4 separate regions of the Homo sapiens genome follow, and regions 1, 2 and 4 are each linked to region 3. The links are contacts of gene promoters, found by promoter capture Hi-C in blood cells and fetal thymus (Javierre and others, 2016). All regions are on one chromosome and are shown on one strand. Each heading gives the region's core, a stretch centred on a gene start or on the middle of the fragment in contact. The rest is flanking DNA. Distances are from core to core; before and after follow the strand shown. Region 1 overlaps TBRG4 (transforming growth factor beta regulator 4). Region 2 overlaps OGDH (oxoglutarate dehydrogenase). Region 3 holds the start of H2AZ2 (H2A.Z variant histone 2). Region 4 overlaps OGDH (oxoglutarate dehydrogenase).

The links. Contacts are between HindIII fragments. The CHiCAGO score rates a contact against its expected background, and 5 or more counts as called.
Region 1: a contact is called between a fragment that was not itself captured here and the fragment with the promoter of H2AZ2 in region 3, in 1 of 17 cell types (naive CD8 T cells). The highest score is 6.6, in naive CD8 T cells.
Region 2: a fragment that was not itself captured here is called in contact with the fragment with the promoter of H2AZ2 in region 3 in 6 of 17 cell types (total CD8 T cells, naive CD4 T cells, naive CD8 T cells and 3 more); the score reaches 7.6 in total CD8 T cells.
Region 4: a fragment that was not itself captured here is called in contact with the fragment with the promoter of H2AZ2 in region 3 in 12 of 17 cell types (total CD8 T cells, monocytes, naive CD4 T cells and 9 more); the score reaches 11.2 in total CD8 T cells.

What each region holds. Positions count from the first base shown.
Region 1 is chr7:45,096,544-45,101,149 of GRCh38, forward strand. It overlaps TBRG4 (transforming growth factor beta regulator 4), which reads right to left. Exons shown (of 11, transcript NM_004749.4): 11 at 3,557-3,883. The coding sequence ends at 3,782. Among named protein-coding and RNA genes, the nearest start is that of SNORA5A, 5.6 kb to the right of the region's middle. The HindIII fragment of the contact is 1,811 bases long and covers 1,132-2,942 here.
Region 2 is chr7:44,650,876-44,655,512 of GRCh38, forward strand. All of the region lies in intron 4 of OGDH (oxoglutarate dehydrogenase), which reads left to right. Among named protein-coding and RNA genes, the nearest start is that of OGDH, 47 kb to the left of the region's middle. The HindIII fragment of the contact is 7,641 bases long and covers 1-4,637 here.
Region 3 is chr7:44,845,945-44,850,814 of GRCh38, forward strand. H2AZ2 (H2A.Z variant histone 2) reads right to left here and starts at 2,143. Exons shown (of 5, transcript NM_012412.5): 1 at 2,025-2,143. The coding sequence starts at 2,027. It overlaps H2AZ2-DT (H2AZ2 divergent transcript), which reads left to right and starts at 2,527. Exons shown (of 2, transcript NR_187581.1): 1 at 2,527-2,577; 2 at 3,515-3,621. RefSeq lists enhancers at 1,726-2,283, 2,284-2,842 and silencers at 1,769-2,158, 2,419-2,478. The HindIII fragment of the contact is 6,622 bases long and covers 1-4,870 here.
Region 4 is chr7:44,628,042-44,632,710 of GRCh38, forward strand. All of the region lies in intron 2 of OGDH (oxoglutarate dehydrogenase), which reads left to right. Among named protein-coding and RNA genes, the nearest start is that of OGDH, 24 kb to the left of the region's middle. RefSeq lists an enhancer at 1,767-1,816. The HindIII fragment of the contact is 3,098 bases long and covers 562-3,659 here.

The DNA.
Region 1 (4,606 bases), core at 787-3,286, 250 kb after region 3:
GTGCACACACATACACACACACCTTTGCAGCAAGATGAATGGAGCTAGAGGCCATTATCTTGTGAAATAACTGAGAAACTGAAAATCAAATATCGCATGTTCTCACTTATAAATGAGAGCTAAACAATGGAGGGGTACACATGGACATAAAGATGGAAATAATAGACACTGGAGACTCCAAATGTGGGGAGGGTGGGAGACAAGGGTTGAAAAACTACCACTGGGTACTATGTTCATTACGTGGGTAATGGGTTCATTAGAAGCCCAAACCTCAGCATGATATAGTATACCCATGTAACAAACCTGCACCTAGTGTACTCCCTAAATCTATTTTTTTTTTTTTTTTTTTTTTGAGACAGTCTGCTTCTGTTGCCCAGGCTGGAGTGCAGTGGCACGATCTCAGCTCACTGCAAGCTCCACCTCCCAGGTTCATGCCATTCTCCTGCCTCAGCCTCCCAAGCAGTTGGGACTACGGGCACCTGCCACCACGCCCGGCCAATTTTTTTGTATTTTTAGTAGAGATGGTGTTTCACTGTGTTGGCCAGGATGGTCTCAATCTCCTGACCTCATGACCCGCCCACCTTGGCCTCCCAAAGTGCTGGGATTACAGGTGTGAGCCCCCGTGCCCGGCCACTCCCTGAATCTTAAAAAAGATATTCTTCCAAAAGACATGCAAATGGCCAAATAAGTAAATGAAAAATGCTGAAAACCATTAGTTATTAGGGAAATAACAAAAACCACAATGAGAAATCACTTTATACGCACTCACATGGCTAAAATAAAACTCAAATTACAAGTGTCATTGAGGATGTAGAGAGATCTGAAACCTTACACACTGCTGGTGGGAATGTAAAACAGTCTAGCAGTTCCTTAAACGACTAAACATAGTTACCATAGACCCAGCAATTCCACTCCTAGGTATATAACCAAGAGAAAAATGAAAACATACATTTATACTCAAACTTGTACAGGAATATTTATAGCAGCATTATTCATGTATTAGTCCATTTTGCATTGCTATAGAAGAATATCTGAGATGGTAATTTATAAAGAAGTTTATTTGGCTCACAGTTCTGCAGGCTGTACAAGCATGGTACTGACATCTGCTTGGCTCCTGGGAAGGCCTTAGGAAGCTTTTACTCATGACAGAAGGTGAACAAGGAGCAGGCATGTCACATGACGAGAGAGGGCAGAACAGATAGGGCAGGAGTTCCCAACAACCAGCTTTCAAGTGAACTAATATAGAGCAAGAACTCACTCATTACAAGGATGGCACCAAGCCATTTATGACAGATGTTCCTATGATCCAAACACTTCCTAACAGGCCCCATTCTCCAACACTGGTGATCCTATTTCATGAGATTTGGAGGGGACAAAATATCCAAACTGTATCAGTTCATATTATCCAGAAGGTGGAAACAATCCACATGTCCATCAATGGATGAATGGATAAACAAAATGTGGCACAAACTATAATGGAATATTATTCAGCCAAATAAAGGAATGAATACTCATACATGCGACATGAATGAAACATGAAAACAATATGCTAAGTAAATGAAGCCAGTCACAAAACACCAAAATATCACATCAGTATATGAGGCTTAGAAAATGTGCAAATTGTGGTGATGGTTGCATGTATCTGCAAAGAGACTAAAAACCACTGAATTATACATTTTTGTTTTCGAGATGGGGTCTCACTCTGTCGCCCAGGCTGGACTGCAGTGGTGCTATCATGGTTCACTGCAGGCTTGACTTCCCAGGCTTAAGTGATCCTCCTACCTCAGCCTCCTGGGTTGCTGGGACGACAGGTGCGTGCCACTGCGGCTAATTCTTGTATTTTAAAAAATAGAGACAGGGTTTTGCCTGTTGCCCAGGGTGGTCTTGAACTCCTGGGCTCAAGATCTGAGGGCCTTGGCCTCCCAAACTGCTGGGATTACAGACGTGAGCCACCACACCTGGCCTAATTATACATTTTAAATGGGTGAAGTGTATGGCATGTGAATTATATTTTAATGAAGTGGTCATAAATAACAAAATAAAAAGCATATTGATTTGAAAGGATAAATACATTCCTGTTTTCAGGACATAAATATCTACATAGGAAATCCAAAGGAATTTTAAAAATGCATAAAGTTTAGCAAGATCACATAAAAATCAATCCCATTTCTATATGCTAACAATCAATGTGTGAATGCCAAAATTAAGCACTACACCACTTACAATTGCTCCAAAATCATGACTTAGGGGTGTGTGTGTATATACGTGTATATATACATATATACACACATATATACTTATATACACATGTACATATATATACACACACACACACACACATATATATTTTTTGAGACAGAGTCTTGCTCTGTTACCCAGGCTGGAGTGCAGTGGCACAATCTTAACTCACTGCAGCCTCCACCTCCCGGGTTCAAGTGATTCACCTGCCTCAGCCTCCTGAGTAGCTGGGATTACAGGTGCCTGTCATCATGCCCGACTAATTTTTATATTTTTAGTAGAGACAGGGTTTCACAATGTTGGCCAGGTTGGTCTTGAATTCCTGGCCTCAGGCGATTCGCCCGCCCCAGCCTCCCTAAGTGCTGGGATTACAGGCGTGATCCCACCACACCTGGCCGACTTAGGTAATATAAAACAAAAACTACAGGCTGGGTGTGCCTGATGGTGCCCAGTGAAGCCAGCACAAACTACCCCAATGCTTGGGTGAGTGGCCAAGCATCAGAGCAGTGACTAGACTTTTTCTTTTTGGGGAAACAGCCTAGGGTTGGGAGCCTACAGTGCTGAGGGCTGTGGGCCTCTCCATCTCAGCTCCACCCCACTGTCCTACTCTCTGTTCTGTATGGCTGGAGGCAACCCAGTTCCCTGACTGCTATTTAGTCAGGTTCTGCCAATAGGTGTCTCTAAGGAGAGGCTGGAAGGTAGAAAGCTTGTTGCCTCCCAGCACCTGGTAATCCCCGCAGCAGCAGGGAGGCTGCCAGGGTCCTGTTTGGGCAGCCAGTTCCTAGATGACAGCACAAGGCTCTGGTCAGGGTGGTGAAGACAACGATGGAGTTTGGCTCTTGGTGCCGTGGTGTCAGCCAAGTGGGATCTTCTCCTCTCCCAGAGCCAGCGCCTCCCAAGTGCTCACCCAGCCCTCACATCACCTGTCACCACATGCTGTCAGGGTGCCTTTCACTCAGCTAAGTGTGAGACAACTGATGGGAGAAAGCCTCCCAGGATGGCTGTGGTTCAGTAGCCACAGCTCCATCAGAACCCCCAGCCATGCACTGAATCTCCAATCAGCTTCCCTGGGAAGCTCCTCTGCTCTGGAGGTTCAGAATTCTAGGACTCCACCTGCCTGCTGGGGCTGATACAGACCCCTACGCAAGAGGCCGGCATATGTGAATAAGCACTCATGGAGGGAAGAAGCTGGGAGAGACAGGCAGGTAACAACCCAGGTCTGTCCCTAAAGCAGCCCTCTTGGGCTGGGCGTGGCGGGGGAGTGCACAGGGCAGACTGGAGAACCACGCCCTGCTCAACAAAGCAGACAGACAAGTGCTGACAGTGCAGAGGGTGACCAAGCCTGGGAAGGCCCCAGGGGTCCAACACCAAAATTAAAGGTTTATTATACACAAGAGGACGTTCTGTCCCTCAGAGTGGCTGGCCACCCTCCCCACTCTGGCCAAGGTCCTGCACAGAGGTTTGTCCTCAAGGGTGACCCTTCTTGGCCGCCCACAGCTAGACCTCCGGCGGAGAGGCACGCAGTCCATGCTGCTGGCACAAGTCACTTGGCCAGCTCCTCAGCCACCGCTTTGCGCATCTTGTCCTTGAGGTAGGCGCCTTTCTGCCATTCAGACTTGAGTTCCAGCCACTCATAGAATGGGACCTAGAAGGAGGCAGGGGAGACAGGTCACATGGGCAAGGAGATCCCTTCCAGCCAGTGGCTCTGCCTGCTTGCCTGCTGTCCTCACATTGACCCCTCACCCAACACCTCTGCTGACCAACAGCTCTGCACACCTGCCCCTTGGCCTCCAAGTCTTCAAGGCAGAGCCCATGAACTGCAGGCAGTGCGGGCGGGGAGAGGTGCTAGCACTGTCAGTGCTGGAGGGGTCTGCAAACTACTCGGAGGCCCAAGAAGGGCTTCTGAATTTTAAACAGTTAAAAAACTCACAACAACCCAAAGAAGCAAACAGAACCCTTGTGTGGCTCATGAAGCCACATGTTCATTCACTGGCCCTTCCCAGGGAAGGTGACCACCTTTGATCTTAACCAAGGTCTCCCAGGTGTGAAACCAGAGTCAGGCCCAAGACCTGCATCTTTCTGCTCCTGCCAGTTCCACTGGTCCTACTTTTCCTGACAACAGGCGCTGACCAAGGGGGCAGAGCAGCTGCACTCAGAGCCCCAACAGCTGTGCAGCCTCTTGGGCTTCAAGCTGCTCATCTGTGAATGGGCCCTACCCTGCCCACCTCTTAAGCTGAATAAGCAGGCTTGGTTGCCTTTTTGGGTTCACCCACGGGGTGAGATGCTGGGAAGGTTAGAGGGGAGGCTGGAGCAGCTAGGATCCACAGTAAACTCCCTCCCTGGGCTCCTGGGAGAGGCCCGGGGCCAC
Region 2 (4,637 bases), core at 1,683-4,182, 190 kb before region 3:
CTATTTCCCCAGAGCTAGGATTCTTGCCATGCCTCCGCTTAGCCGCCCTTCCCACCTCCCTGTGGATGCAGGCACAGTTTCTCCCTCTCCTTGGGGAAACAGGCTCACAGCAGTGATCATACCCATGTTGGAACATAGCCTTTGGTGCTTCCGTCAGAGCTTGTTCTGTCTTTTGTTGGAAAAGCTCCAGGTAGGGGGCAGTGATGGAGGGCAGGAGCCGTTGGCAAAGCCATTCATTCTCAAAGGGCACTGATGATGCTGCCCTGAAAACAGTCTGCCAGCTGAGCACCTGGGTGGTTGGCCAGTTTGGTCTGCAGTGCAAGCAGGGAATTCTGTCCACTCTGAGTTTTTTAATAAAGTGGAATATATGCTATAGTTTCCACTGAGTTGACCTTTTATGACCATTTTTGAAAAGTTTGGGAAATCCTGGCTTAGGGCACCTGTCTTCACTTCTCAGAAATTCTCCTGGTCCCTGAAGTAATAAGGAAAGATAATTAACAAGTAGACTCTTACCAGTTAGGAGAGACTGTACAGACACAGAACTCCACAGTAGCGCCAGAGTGTCAGGATTTACCATCAGATGTTATGGACACACTCTTGCCCTCAGTTTTATCTTTCAAGTGTAGCATGACAGAACTTGTTATGAATACAGTAAAAAATATTGTTGAGATGGTAGGGCCAGTGGTTTATTATTATTATTATTTGAGATGGAATTTTGCTCTTTTGCCCAGGCTGGAGTGCAATGGCACCATCTCGGCTCACTGCACTCTCCGCCTCCCGGGTTCAAGTGATTCTCCTGCCTCAACCTCCTGAGTAGCTGGGATTACAGGCACCCATCATCATGTCCAGCTAATTTTTGTATTTTTAGTAGGGACCATGTTTCACCATGTTGCCAGGCTGATCTCGTACGCCTGACCTCAGGTGATCCACCTGCCTTGGCCTCCCAAAGTGCTGGGATTACAGGCATGAGCCACCACACCCAGCCTAATTAAATTTCTAAAATTTAAGTAGAGACAGGGTTTCACCACGTTGCCCAGGCTGTTCTCAAACTCCTCTGAGCTCAAGCACTCCACCTGCCTCCGCCTCCCAAAGTGCTGGGATTACAGGAGTGAGCCACCGTGCCCAGCCTAGTGATTATTTTCATTAACAATTTTTAAAATTAATTTTAGAACAGTTTCTCAATTATGTGTGAATTATGTTCCGTAATTGTGCCAGGTGATGGCTGGAACAGAGATAAGTTTTTTTTTTTTGAGATGGAGTTTCGCTCTTGTTGCCCAGGCTGGAGTGCAATGGCACGACCTCATTTCACTGCAATCTCCGCCTCCCGGGTTCAAGCAATTCTCCTGCCTCAGCCTCCCAAGTAGCTGGGATTACAGGCACCCACCACCATGCCCAGCTAATTTTTTGTATTTTTAGTAGAGACCGGGTTTCACCATATTGGCCAGGCTGGTCTTGAACTCCTGACCTCAGGTGATGCCCTCGCCTCAGCCTCCCAAAGTGCTGGGATTACATGTGTGAGCTACCGCACCTGGCCAGAGATAACTTTTTAATGAAGTGTTAAAGTTAGGGGCCAGTTTCCAGGTAAATCTCCAGATGCCCATCTTAATTTGTGCCAGGCTATACTATAAACCTCATTTCCCTGGGGAAAGAGGGTTGAGAGTTCCAACATGAGATACTTTATTTTTTTATTTTATTTTATTTTTAAAATAGAGACAGGGTCTTATTATGTTGCCCAGGCTCGTCTCAGACTCCTGGGCTCAAGCAACCCTCCTGCCTTGGCCTTTCAGAGTGCTAGAATTACAGCAGTGAGCCACCGCGCCCAGCTGACATGTATTAAATACACATTTCTCTTCACTCACATTCCATAGTGAGGTTCCTTGACAGCAAATTTGCAGATCTGGAGAATGAGGCACCAACCTCATGTTATAATATCCCTGAATGGATCCAGTCAGAGTGGGAGGTAGTGGCAGCCCAACGTCTTCTGGTAGGAGGGCTCCTAGGGAGTCTTTTTCCACTGGCTCTTGAAGAAGGGTCATCAGTTGGGGTACCACGGTAGATATGGGTGTATATTGCAAAACACTAGAACCAGAGTATTATCAATGGAAAGGTCTAGACAGTGAGGCCCACTCATTTGCCTAATTAGAAACAGTTAGAAACTCCTGCTTAATTAGAAATTCTTGCCCTCAGTTTTTTCTTGCTGTTGTTTGGTTTTTTTTAATTATTATTTTTGTTTTTTGAGACAGAGTCTTACTCTGTCGCCCAGGCTGGAGTGCAGTGGTGCAATGTCAGCTCACTGCAACCTCCACCTCCAGGTTCAAGTGATTCTCGTGCCTCAGCCTCTCAAGTAGCCAGGATTACAGATGTGCACCACCATGCCCGGCTAATTTTTGTATTTTTAGTAGAGAAGGGGTTTCACTGTGTTGGTCAGGCTGGCCTTGAACTCCTGGCCTCAAGTGAGTCGCCCGTCTCGGACTCCCAAAGTGTTGGGATTACAGAGGTGAGCCACTGCGCCTGGCCCAATTTTATCTTTCAAGTGTAGCATTCGAATTAGTTTCCCACTTAAAAATGCCACTGTCTGTGGTTTCGGTATAAATTCTGAGTATAACTTTTCACAGTGACAAAAATGATTGAGATGTACTTTACTGGGTTTTTTGTTGTTGTTTTGTTTTTTGAGACAGTCTCTTTCTGTAGCCCAGGCTGGAATGCAGTGGCACGATCTCGACTCACTGCAACCTCTCCTTCCAGATTCAACCAATTCTCCTGCCTTAGCCTCCTGAGTAGCTGAGACTACAGGCATGCGCCACCACACCAGGCTAATTTTTGTATTTTTAGTAGAGACAGGGTTTTACCATGTTGGCCAGGCTGGTCTCGAACTCCTGACCTCATGTAATCCACCTGCCTAGGCCTCACAAAGTGCTGGGATTACAGGCGTGAGCCACTGTGCCTGGCCTAATTAAATTTGTTTTTTTTTATTTTTATTTTATTTTATTTTTTTTTGAGACGGAGTCTCGCTCTGTTGCCCAGGCTGGAGTGCAGTGGCAGGATCTCAGCTCACTGCAACCTCTGCCTCCCAGGTTCAAGCAATCCTCCTGCTTCAGCCTCCCACATAACTGGGATTACAAGCATGTGCCACTATGCCTGGTTAATTTTTGTATTTTTAGTAGAGACGGTGTTTCACCATGTTGTCCAGCCTGGTCTCAAACTCCTGAGCTCAAGTGATCCACCTGCTTTGGTCTCCCAAAGTGCTGGGATTATAGGCATGAGCCACCACGCTCCGTGAGATGTACTTTAATGTGAGATTTAAACATAATTAAAAGAGAATTAAAAACCAATTGTATAAATAAATGGGAAGAAAGTGTGAAACTTCTCTCCCATTTACCATTGATGTTTACAAATTGCTAATACCATTTTAGGAAATGAACGTGAGTTAAATAGTTAAAAAGTCAATTTAAAAGTTGAAAAATGTGGCAAAATGTCAACTACTTAGTTCTTGCCTTTCTCTGACAACCTGCTGTCATTAACAGCACAGCGAGTCATGACAAAGTTTCCACATATCCTCCTGACCTTCCAGGGCTCTCCGGTTTGTTCCTTTGATGGCTGAGAAAAATAAGCTAAAAATAGAGTTGACGTTTAATTAGCTTTTGTAATTTCAGAGTGATATAGAGCAGTTCATTTAGTAAGCATTGATTGCTATGTGCAGCGTGCTGTGTGCCACAGATAACCGAGGAGCTGGAGACGAGGTTTCCTAAGTGACTCGGGAGGGCGGGGCCAAGCTAAGAACATAACCAGGGTGGTTGAAGCCATGGGCGATATGGTCACCCTCAAGGAGAATGAAGCTGGCCAAGCAGACATCTGACATTTGAGAAGATTCTTTGACTGGAGATACCCAGAAACTGGTAAACCGAGTCCCCTAGTTCCCAGCGTCACATTCCTGCTTCTGTGCTTCACTTGGAAGTACTGTGGCCAAATCTCCATCCGCTCCCTCTCTCCTCCCTCACAGCACCTGCACTCTTCAAGAAGTAATTTACAATGCTTCAAAGCACTCAGGTGTTGGAAAATCTGTGTGCTTTCTGTAAATTGTGACAACCAGAATATCTTCTATTGTTCTCTTAACTCTCCTCTTCTTTGGTTTGTGTCTTTTGTTTGCCTTTTATTTTAAAAATATAAAAAAGTACAGATAAAAGAGCATTCACATACTCAGTACTAAGAATGTAAACATTTTACCACATTGCCTTTAGATTTTTAAAAATGGGTATGAGTATTTAAGGTTCCTTTCGAGGCCCTCCCCTGTGTAGATCCTTACCTGGAGTCTCCAGGGTAGCTAACATACACCTCACTTATGGCATCTTGACATGGTCTCATGTCTTGGTTTTGAAGATTGAAGGAGAAAATTTAAGATTCTTCATCCTTGCCTTAAGCAAAATATCGACATTTAGATATTCTGTTGTCTTAAGAGCCACTTGGCTCTGAGTTCTTCAGTGGTTGTTGTTCCCTGGGGGAAGGAGACAGTGTGGCTTGCCCAGGACTGGAGACTAGCCCCTGTCACAGCCCTAGGAAGCAGGCCTGTTTCTTGGGGTCTGAGTCTGACTTCAAAGGAAGCACTTGCTGGCCTTTCTCTGCACTCCCAGTACAGGGAG
Region 3 (4,870 bases), core at 893-3,392:
GAGAACCCAAATCTAAATTTTTTAATTCCAAGAACTGACTTCGTATTAACCTGAGTTAAGGTTGTTGGTTTTAAAAAATTACACACACACACACACACACACACACACACACACACACAGAGAGAGACAGAGAGAGAGAGAGAGGAGGAAGTAGGAGTTCGTTCATTTTACTTGGATAAACTTGCAAACTGGATACTAAGACACTTTCATGTCAGTTTTAACAGACATCTGCTTACTTCCTCTCAGGTTTAAAATCTATCAAGAACGACAACTCAATGTCTCCTGCATTTTTAGCTTATGTTAATACTTATGTATTTTTAGCTACTGGTAAGTGGATATAAAACATATAGCGTATCACTAGAGATTGAAAAATATCTGAAAAACTAGAATTGGCCGTGCGCGGTGGCTCACGCCTGTAATCCCAGCACTTTGTCAGGCCGAGGGGGGCGGATCACAAGGTCAAGAGATCGAGACCATCCTGGCCAACATGGTGAAACCCAATCTCTACTAAAAATACAAAAAATTAGCAGGGCGTGGTGGCGCACGCCTGTAGCTATTCGGGAGGCTGAGGCAGGAGCATCGCTTGAACCCGGGAGGCGGAGGTTGCAGTGAGTGAAGATCGCCCATTGCACTCCAGCCTGGCAACAGAGTGAGACTCCGTCTCAAAAAAAAAAACCACAAAAAACCACAAAAAACAAACAACAAAAAACCAAAAAAAAAAAAAACCACAAAAAACTAGAATCATGAAAATCATCTGTTTGAGCAAATCCTTTTACAGATTAGATGTAAGCTGTACCTCAGTTTGATAAAGTACTATAAAGTACTTTACAATAACAATAAACTATACGTGAGACGTTGGAAGCAATTATCCCTAAAGTCTATTCCAGCTCTAAGATTTGGGTTTTTTACAATAACAATAAACTATACGTTAGACGTTGGAAGCAATTATCCCTAAAGTCTATTCCAGCTCTAAGATTTGGGTATTTTACAATAACCAAACATTGTCCTCTCGACTGGCCAATCTGTTTACAGTTAGGTGTTATGTCTATTCAATACCATATCTGTCACATCAAGCACAAGACAAATCATCTAATACTATCTGCAGTATGATAAATGACAGCTTGGTGCTAACTTTTAAGCAGGTAGCTCCCGTTGAAGTAACCTTTCAACAGAATGCTTAAAGCACGAATACCGGCAAAAATAAGATTCCATAACAGTCTTATTATTTTTACACAATCTTTGATGCAACTCAGAGCGTATCCTTTAGCACCTTCTCTTTTCCCCTCAACTTTAAAATGGGGCTGAAGTTCTATTCACTTTCATTTTTTTAAAGCCACACTCTTCTTATCTAGATCTGAATTTCAGAATGAAAAGATGAATACTTTAAGACTGAAAATCCATAGCAAGGGCAAAGGAAAGTACTGTTGTATAATGAAAACCGCAAACTGCAAGGGGCTCAGAAGATAACGGGCGTTCATTTCTAACCTGTGCAATCACCTAGAACAAATCGTGTGGTTCTGGTCTATAAAACCATTCTTTGTCGCTCAAAAGACCACAAATACAAGCACCCTTTCGCAGAAACCCTCAAACTGACTGCCAGGGAGATTACGTAACCAAACATCGCCAAAGACTTATCTAACTTGTACAGCGGCAGCCTGTTTGACCTCATTCATACAGAGAAGCGATCACATTAAGATCCAGCACTTGTTTCTACATTTCCAAGCCGGATTCTGCCGTCCTCCTCCTTCTAAGACGGGCGGTGCAGCGTCACAAGCGTCGGGACAGATCTATCCGGCTCGGAACAGACTTCGCGCTCTACCCGGCCAGGCCCAGCTCTCACCCGGGGACCCGTGTCGGGCTCCGCAGCTGGGACATGGCGCCCCCCGGCGGGCGGCGAGGGGCTCGGCCGGACGAAGCCCAGACACCCGCAAACTCCCGACTCCACAGGTAGCGGCGCCGACGCCAGGGCCTCCGCGCTCTGCTCTCCCAGGCCCCGTGCCCCCGGCCCACCCGGCCGCCCTTACCATGTTCTCGGCGCCGACTCCGCCTCCGCTCGGCCGCGCGCCCTCCCGCTGCCGACCCGCGCCGCCGCCGCCGCTCTCGCAGCACCGACCGCCGCCGCCGGAGCCGGACAATACCCCGTGCCCGCCTCGCGCTGCTGTGGCCAATGCCCGCTTGTCTTGCTGGTTCGAACCCCAGCGGCTGTTCAATCGCGCGCCTCCTTCTAGCCAGACCCCGCCCCCCCGGCACCGCCTTCCTAACGGCTGTTTGTTTTTGCACACGGCACGCGGAGGCGGGGCCTCCAGCCCCAATAGTGACGCGCTCTCTGCCTTTCACCAGGCGCCCAAGCCTGACGAACAGAAAGGCAAACCAATGAGATTGGACGCCTCGCAGACGAAAGCCAATAAAAATATCGCCCGCGAGCAAGGGAGGCGGGCCACTGGGAAGGACAGCAAAATTAGCTAATAAGGTGAAGCGATTGCAGGCGCTGTGGCTTTCCCGCCCATTCGCGGCGTTGGTTTTCCCGCTTCTGAGACTTGTTTGGGGAGGTAAAGAGTGTTGGACGTGCTTCTCCTGGTGGGTTTTCACAGACTGTGAGGATTTATTCGTCTTAGAACGTGTGGATCAGGAGGGCGCTGGGTTTCAAGGTTAGGCAGGCCTCATGCTCAGCCGTATTCTGGCGGACTGACTACCCTGACGTCCTCTCAGCGCGGACCCTGACAAGGTCCGCGGCAGGCTGAGGCGGGAGAATCGCTTGAACCCCGGAGGCGGAGGTTGCAGTGAGCCGAGATCGCGCCACTGCACTCCAGCTGGGCGACGCATCGTCTCAAAACAAACAAACAAAAACAAAAGCTATCAATTGGCTACATATTGTTATTTGTATGACAAATTCTTTTTCCTTTTTTAGAGATGGAGTCCTGGGACTACAGGCGCGCGCCCCAATGCCCAGCTAACTTTTGTATTTTTAATAGAGACGGGGTTTCTCCGTGTTGGTCAGGCTGGTCTCGAACTCCTGACCTCAGGTGATCTGCCCCCCTTTGCCTCCCAAAGTACTGGGATTACAGGCGTGAGCCACCGCGCCCGGCATGTATTACAAATTCTAAGAACACGAAGATAATGGGGCCGGCTTGGTGGCGCGAACCTGTAGCCTCACCTACTGTCAAGACTGAGACAGGAGGATCTCTTGAGCCCAGGAGGTCGAGGCTGCAGTGAGTCATGATCGCACCACTGCACTCCAGCTTGGGAGACAGAATATACCCTGTCTAAAAAATAATAATAAAAAAAAAGGTAATGGATGAGGCCGATAGTCAGGAATGAAATGACTTTAAACAATTGGGTATGCATGGGATTGGGTATGTGTGTATGTGGGGGCAGAGGGTGGGCATAACCGAAGTCCCATACTCATGTCCCTCTAGGCCTAATACATTTTGCAGACCTCACAGAGCTCAGACTGTTGTGAGCCGTTTTTCTTTTCTCAACCTCTTCAGTGTGTTTATTTTGCTTACATCATTAGGTTAAAATTTGGAGGATAACTCCCAGCTAGAAAGGAAGAAAAGCTCTAAAGTGGAATCGCCTTCCCCCGGAAGCTGTTGTAAAAATTAAAGGATGTATGTGAGTGCACAGGCTCTCCAGCGATCGTTTTTCTTCCACAGTGTTAACACAATTTATTTATTTATTTACTTTTTGAGATGAAGTCTCACTCTGTTGCCCAGGCTGGATGGAGTGCAGTGGTGTGATCTGGGCTCACTGCAACCTCCGCCTCCTGAGTTCAAGCGATTCTCCTGCCTCAGCCTCCTGGGTAGCTGGGACTAAAGGCTCCCACCACCATTCCCCGCTAGTTTTTGTATTTTTAGTAGAAATAGGGTTTCACCATGTTGGCCAGGCTGGTCTTGAACTCCTGACCTCAAGTGATCCTCTCGCCTCAGCCTCCTAAAGTGCTGGGATTACAGGCGTGAGCCACCGCGCCTGGCCTGTTTCCACAATTAAAAAAGGCCCATCACCCTATCATGATCATCTCTATTACAGTCTGGACAATATGAGCTTTCTGGGAGAGCCAGCTTCATTTCATAACTGAAGAAATGGGCTTAGGTGAACTTAGTCATTTGCCTGAGACCGCATAGCCTGTAGATAACCAAGATACCAGCTCACATTTGTTCCAACTCATTCCAGCTTTAAATTCTTTCATTCTTTTCACAGTATGATGCATTGACTGTGCTAGAATGTGTTCTTGGTGTTGGTGAGTTAATAGTGAAAAAAACAAGTTTCTGCCTTAGTGGAGATTCTGTTGTCATAGGATTTTCCCAGGCTGGCACTTTAGAAATTTATATCCAGGCTGATGATAGCTGTTCCAAAGTTTGAATCAGGAGAAGCAACTTTGGGGAAGTGAGTCTTTAAAAAAAGGTAACTTAAATTCAAGAAGAGGAAGAGGGTGAGCTTCTAAGTAAGAATTTGGAAAAATACGGATGAAGGTACAGACAAGTGTGAGGAAGGGTGTCCAGTGAAATAGGAAGGAATGGAGCAATGTGCCCAGATTAATAGAAGCCTCAAAACTAGGTAGAAGAGTGGAGTTACTTCAGTAAAAATAGCCATTGTTAATTCCTGCTCCTCTGTGTTTCTGGCCTCAGTGGATGGCATTACCAATCTACCAAGGCATAAGCCTGTGAGTTATTCCTTTAACAAATCACTCAGTGCCTACTGTTTGCAGGCACTGTGCTAGGTACTGAGGATTTGGTGATTAGCAAAATAGACATTGTCCTTGCCCTTGTGGTCCTCTGCAGCGGGAGTCAGATGTTAAAGAAATAAACAAATACCATATGTGAATTATAATAAGTTCAAGTGTGCTGAAGGAAAAGAACAGGGTGCTTTAAGA
Region 4 (4,669 bases), core at 861-3,360, 220 kb before region 3:
TAGATGATAAGCCTAATGAGGAGACTGGTCACGCAGCTTCAACAGCTGTCTTAAAAATCTATTCCCTACCCCAGTGACTTTTTTATTTGTTGGTTTATTTGGGGTTTGAGGAGAGTAGACACTGGAGTATTTTAAGGCAAATTCCAGACCTGTGTCATTTCTGGCATAAATGCATCAGTGTAACTAACTGTTAAGTAATTGTTTTCATAACCACACCCAATAAAATTAACAGGCTAATTCTCTAATAGAATTTTTTCTCAGTCCATGTTTAAATATTTACTCTTCTCTTAAAGCTGCCCTTTTACATTTTGTTTTGTTTTGTTTTTTAATTTTTATTTTACTTTTTTTTACATTTGGTTTTACACTTTATAATTGGTCGTTGTATTCCTTATTTTTAATTTTATTTATTTTTTAATTAAAAACTTTTTTTTAATGTAAGTAGGAGCCATGCCTGTAATCCTGATACTTTGGGAGGCTGAGGCAGGAGGATTGCTTGAGTCCAGGAGTTTGGGACCAGCCTGGACAAGGCAAGGCCTTGTCTCTATTAAAAATAAAATAGAAAGCTTTTTAAAAAAATAAAAAAATGTAAATAGAGATGGAGTCTCTTTATGTTGTCCAGACTGGTCTTGAACTCCTGGGCTCAAGCAATCCTCCCAGCTTGGCCTCCCAAAGTGCTGGGATTACAGATGTGAGCCACCACACCCAGCCTCTTAAAAAAAACTTCTATTCTTAAAATGCTTAACTGATGTGAAAATTATATTTGTGGTAAAATATTTTAGCAAATCAGAGCTGCAAGTACCTTTTTTACCCTAAGTCCACTCCCCAGAACAGAATCCGGTTAACTAGCTGACCTGGGTCTGTCTCTGTGGTGGGCCCATCTGCCATCTCCCTTTTGTTCCTACCTTTGGTCCTGTCCTAGACTTTCGTCTCTGTTCTAGTCTGGCATTTGTGCTCCTCACTGACCCCTCTTAAGAGCCTTCAGCGGTGGCCTGGGCTGTCAGCCTATGAAACCCTCCTCATTAGGGTCTCAGCATATTTGAGGTCACATCAAATGATGACATCTTTATTTATGTCTTTAAGACACAGTCAGAGCTAAGTTATCCTTGTTAATGTTTAAGACAAACAGGTAATTGAGAACTGCTAAGCCCCCATGAGTCTGGGTGTTGATCTCATTTTGTTTTGTAGGGACAGGTGCCCACCTACAGCTGTAGCATGGTGTTGAGTTCCTTGTGATGCATCTGCCAGGTTCTGGCCCTGCTGAGGAAGAGCCAGGATTAGGTCCTGAGGGAGTGGAAGGAGCTGGGGCCTGTTGTTCTTCTCCCAACAGTGCCTTCAGCAGCTGCCTTGAGGGTGCCATCATTGGCCCTGCTTTTCTTCTAGGCCCTCCTGGCCATTTGGCTTTCTCACAGCTTGCTTTGTACCTCAGGGCTCTTCCTCTGCTCTGTGCTTTCCTCTGCCCTGCCCACCTGCCTAAAGCCTGCCTCCCTGTTCTTGTTAACTGATGCCCATTTCTTTTCTTTCCTTTTTCTTTTTCTTTTCTTTTTTTTTTTTTTTTTTGAGACGAGTCTCGCTCTGTCACCAAGTCTGGAGTGCAGTGGCGCAGTCTCGGCTCTCTGCAACTTCCGCTTCCTGGGTTCAAGCAATTCTCGTACCTCAGTCTCCCAGCTAGCTGGGATTACAGACGTGCCCCATCACGCCTGGCTAATTTTTGTATTTTTAATAAAGACGGGGTTTCACCATGTTGGCCAGGCTGGTCTTGAACTCCCGACCTCAGGTGATCCGACCGCCTCGGCCTCCCAAAGTTCTGGGATTATGGGCGTGAGCCATCATGCCCGGCCTGATGCCTGTTTCTTGATGGTTTTTTCTTCTTGCACTTTTCACGTGTCAGCTCCTAAAGTGTGTACATGTGGTCGCTGCAGGAGGGAGGGTCTCTATGCGTTCAGATTACAGGTGCAGGCTGTTGGCCTGCTGCTGAGTCTGGCATCGCTGCTCATCTGTCGACACCGTTCTGCTTCCTCCTTTCGTGCTTATGAAACACAGTACTGGTGTTTTCTATGGGTGAAACTAAGTGGAGGAAAAGCACAGATACACAAACTGTCCCATTATGCAGTGTTATGGGCCTTTTCACTCTGCAGTGTTGAAACTGCCTTGGCCTCACTTTGAAAAATAGGACTATGGTACCCATGGTTGTGTCCTGGCCTGGGGTTCCTCCCATGGCAGGAGCCCTGCTCCAAGTTACCCTCCTAGCCGCTGCATGTGCGGTGAAGGGGCTTCCCACAGTGGGTATGTGGAAGTCTGATGGAAGTCTGATGTGCTCATAAGGAGATCTGATATGTTCACGTGACAAGGAACAGCTGTGTTGAAAAATCTGCAGAACACTTTGGTGCCACTCAAGTTATTTATTTCTGGGAATAATTCACAAGGCACTTTAGGCAATGCCAGTTGGGTGGTTGGAATGCATTTTGAGTATTTTAATCTTTTATGTTTGATTTATGAATGACTTATCAGAAATATATGTAGTCATTCCTTGGTATCTGTGGGGGATTGGTTCCAGGGCACACTGAGGATACTAAAATCCAAGGAAGCTCATGTCCCTTGTATAAAATGAAATATAAACTATGCACGTTCTCCCATATACTTTAAATCATCTCTAGATTACTTGTAATACCTAATACAAGGTAAATGCTATGCAGATAGTTGTTATACTTCATTGTTTGTGGCAGCAGTCCCCAACTCCTTTGGCACCAGGGACCAGTTTCGTGGAAGACAATTTTTCCATGGACTGAGGGATCAGGGGAGGATGGCTTTGCAGTGAAACTGTTCCACCTCACATCAGGCATTAGTTAGATTCTCATAAGGAGTGAACTTAGATCCCTTGCATGCACAGCTCACAATCCAGTTGGCTCTCCCATGAGAATCTAATGCCCCCGCTGATGTGACAGGAGGTGGAGCTCAGGTGGTAATGCTCGCTTGCCGCTCACTTCCTGCTATGCAACCCAGTTCCAAACAGGCCACTGACCAGTACTGGTCTGTGGCCCGGGGGTTGGGGATCCCTGGTTTAGAGAATAATAACAGGAAAAAAAAGTGTACATGTTCAGTACAGGCAGTTTTTTACCAACTATTTTCAATCCACGTTTGGTTGAATCCATGGATGCAGAACCCACAGATACGGAGGGCTGACTGTATACATAAACTGCATGGTCTACGTAAATGGGGTTTCAGCGATGAGCTTTGAAGTTACCCCTTGATGATTTTTTGTTTTTGAAGATTCAGGAGGTACATGTGTGGGTTTGTAACATGGGTACGTTAAGTAATGGTGGGAATTGGGTTTCTAGTGTACCCATCACCCAGATAATGAACATTGTACCCAATAGGCAATTTTTCAACCCTCACTCTCCTACCACCCTCCCCCACCGCCACTTGATAATCTTTAACTTCACATGTTAAGAGCAATCTCAGCACTTGTGGCTTTTTGTGTTAAATCAGCTAAACTGACTGAGTGCGCCTTCTCCAACTTTAGCACAGTATTTCACTCTTAAGCAGTTTGCATTTATGGTTTATTTAGGGTGATAAAATTATAACCTCTTTGAAACAACAGGAAACATGAAGCAACACCCTCACTTGTGTGGTAGTTTGCAGCTCATGACAGCTGTGTTCGAAGCTTGTGCTGAGTGGCGGCTGCAAGAGGAAAAGCAGTCTTGCCCTGTTATCCTAGCAGGATGATTAAATAAGTTTAAACAACAGTTAAAATTCTAGCTCTCTTTTCTCTCTCTCTCTCCCCCTCTCCACCCCCTTCCCTCTTTCCTTTCTCTCTCCTCTCTCTCCCGGCCCTTAAAAAGAAAAATAAATAAATAAAAACATTTGGAATTCTAATAGAACCCACTGAGCTTCTGAAAGGAAGTGCATTATGCTGTGCTGTGAAGGAGCCCAACAGGGGCTCACGGTCACTCAGCAGGATGATGGATGCAGGCTTCAGGGCCAGGAGCCAGACGCAGCAAGAAAAAACCAAAAATTTGGATTATGAAGTAAATGGAGAGGTTCCAAGATCAAACCAAGAGGTGTTTGTTGATTTTGTTATGTGCTGTGGGAGCATGGACCCCTCAGCAGGTAGAAGGAGAGCAAGTTTGAGGATGTGGTGCAGGAGGAGTTGGGATCCCCAAGAGCAGGAGGGACTGAGGCCAGGACAGCAGGCATACGAGGTCACTGAGGCTGGTGGGAGGAGAGAGGCTTACTCTAAATGAGGATCACTGCATCTTTTGGAGCTCTTCTTTTTGAGACAGGGTCTCCATTACCCATACTGGAGTGCAGTGGCACCATGATAGTAGCCTCAAACTTCTGGGCTCAAGTAATCCACTCCCCCGCCACTCCCCCACGCCTCAGCTTCCTGAGTAGCTGGGAGTACAGGTGCACACCACCATGCCTGACTAATATTTTATATTTTTTATAGAGACAGGGTCTTGTTTTTTTGCCCAGGCTGGTCTCAAACTCCTGGCTTCAAGCCATCCTCCTGCCTTGCCTCCTAAAGTGGTGGGATTACAGGCGTGAGCCACTGAGCCTGGTGGATGTTTTTTGTTGTTGTTGTTATTGTTGTTTTGAGATGGACTTTCGCTCTGTCACACAGGCTAGAGTGCAATGGCACGATCTCGGCTCACTGCAACCTCCGCCTCCC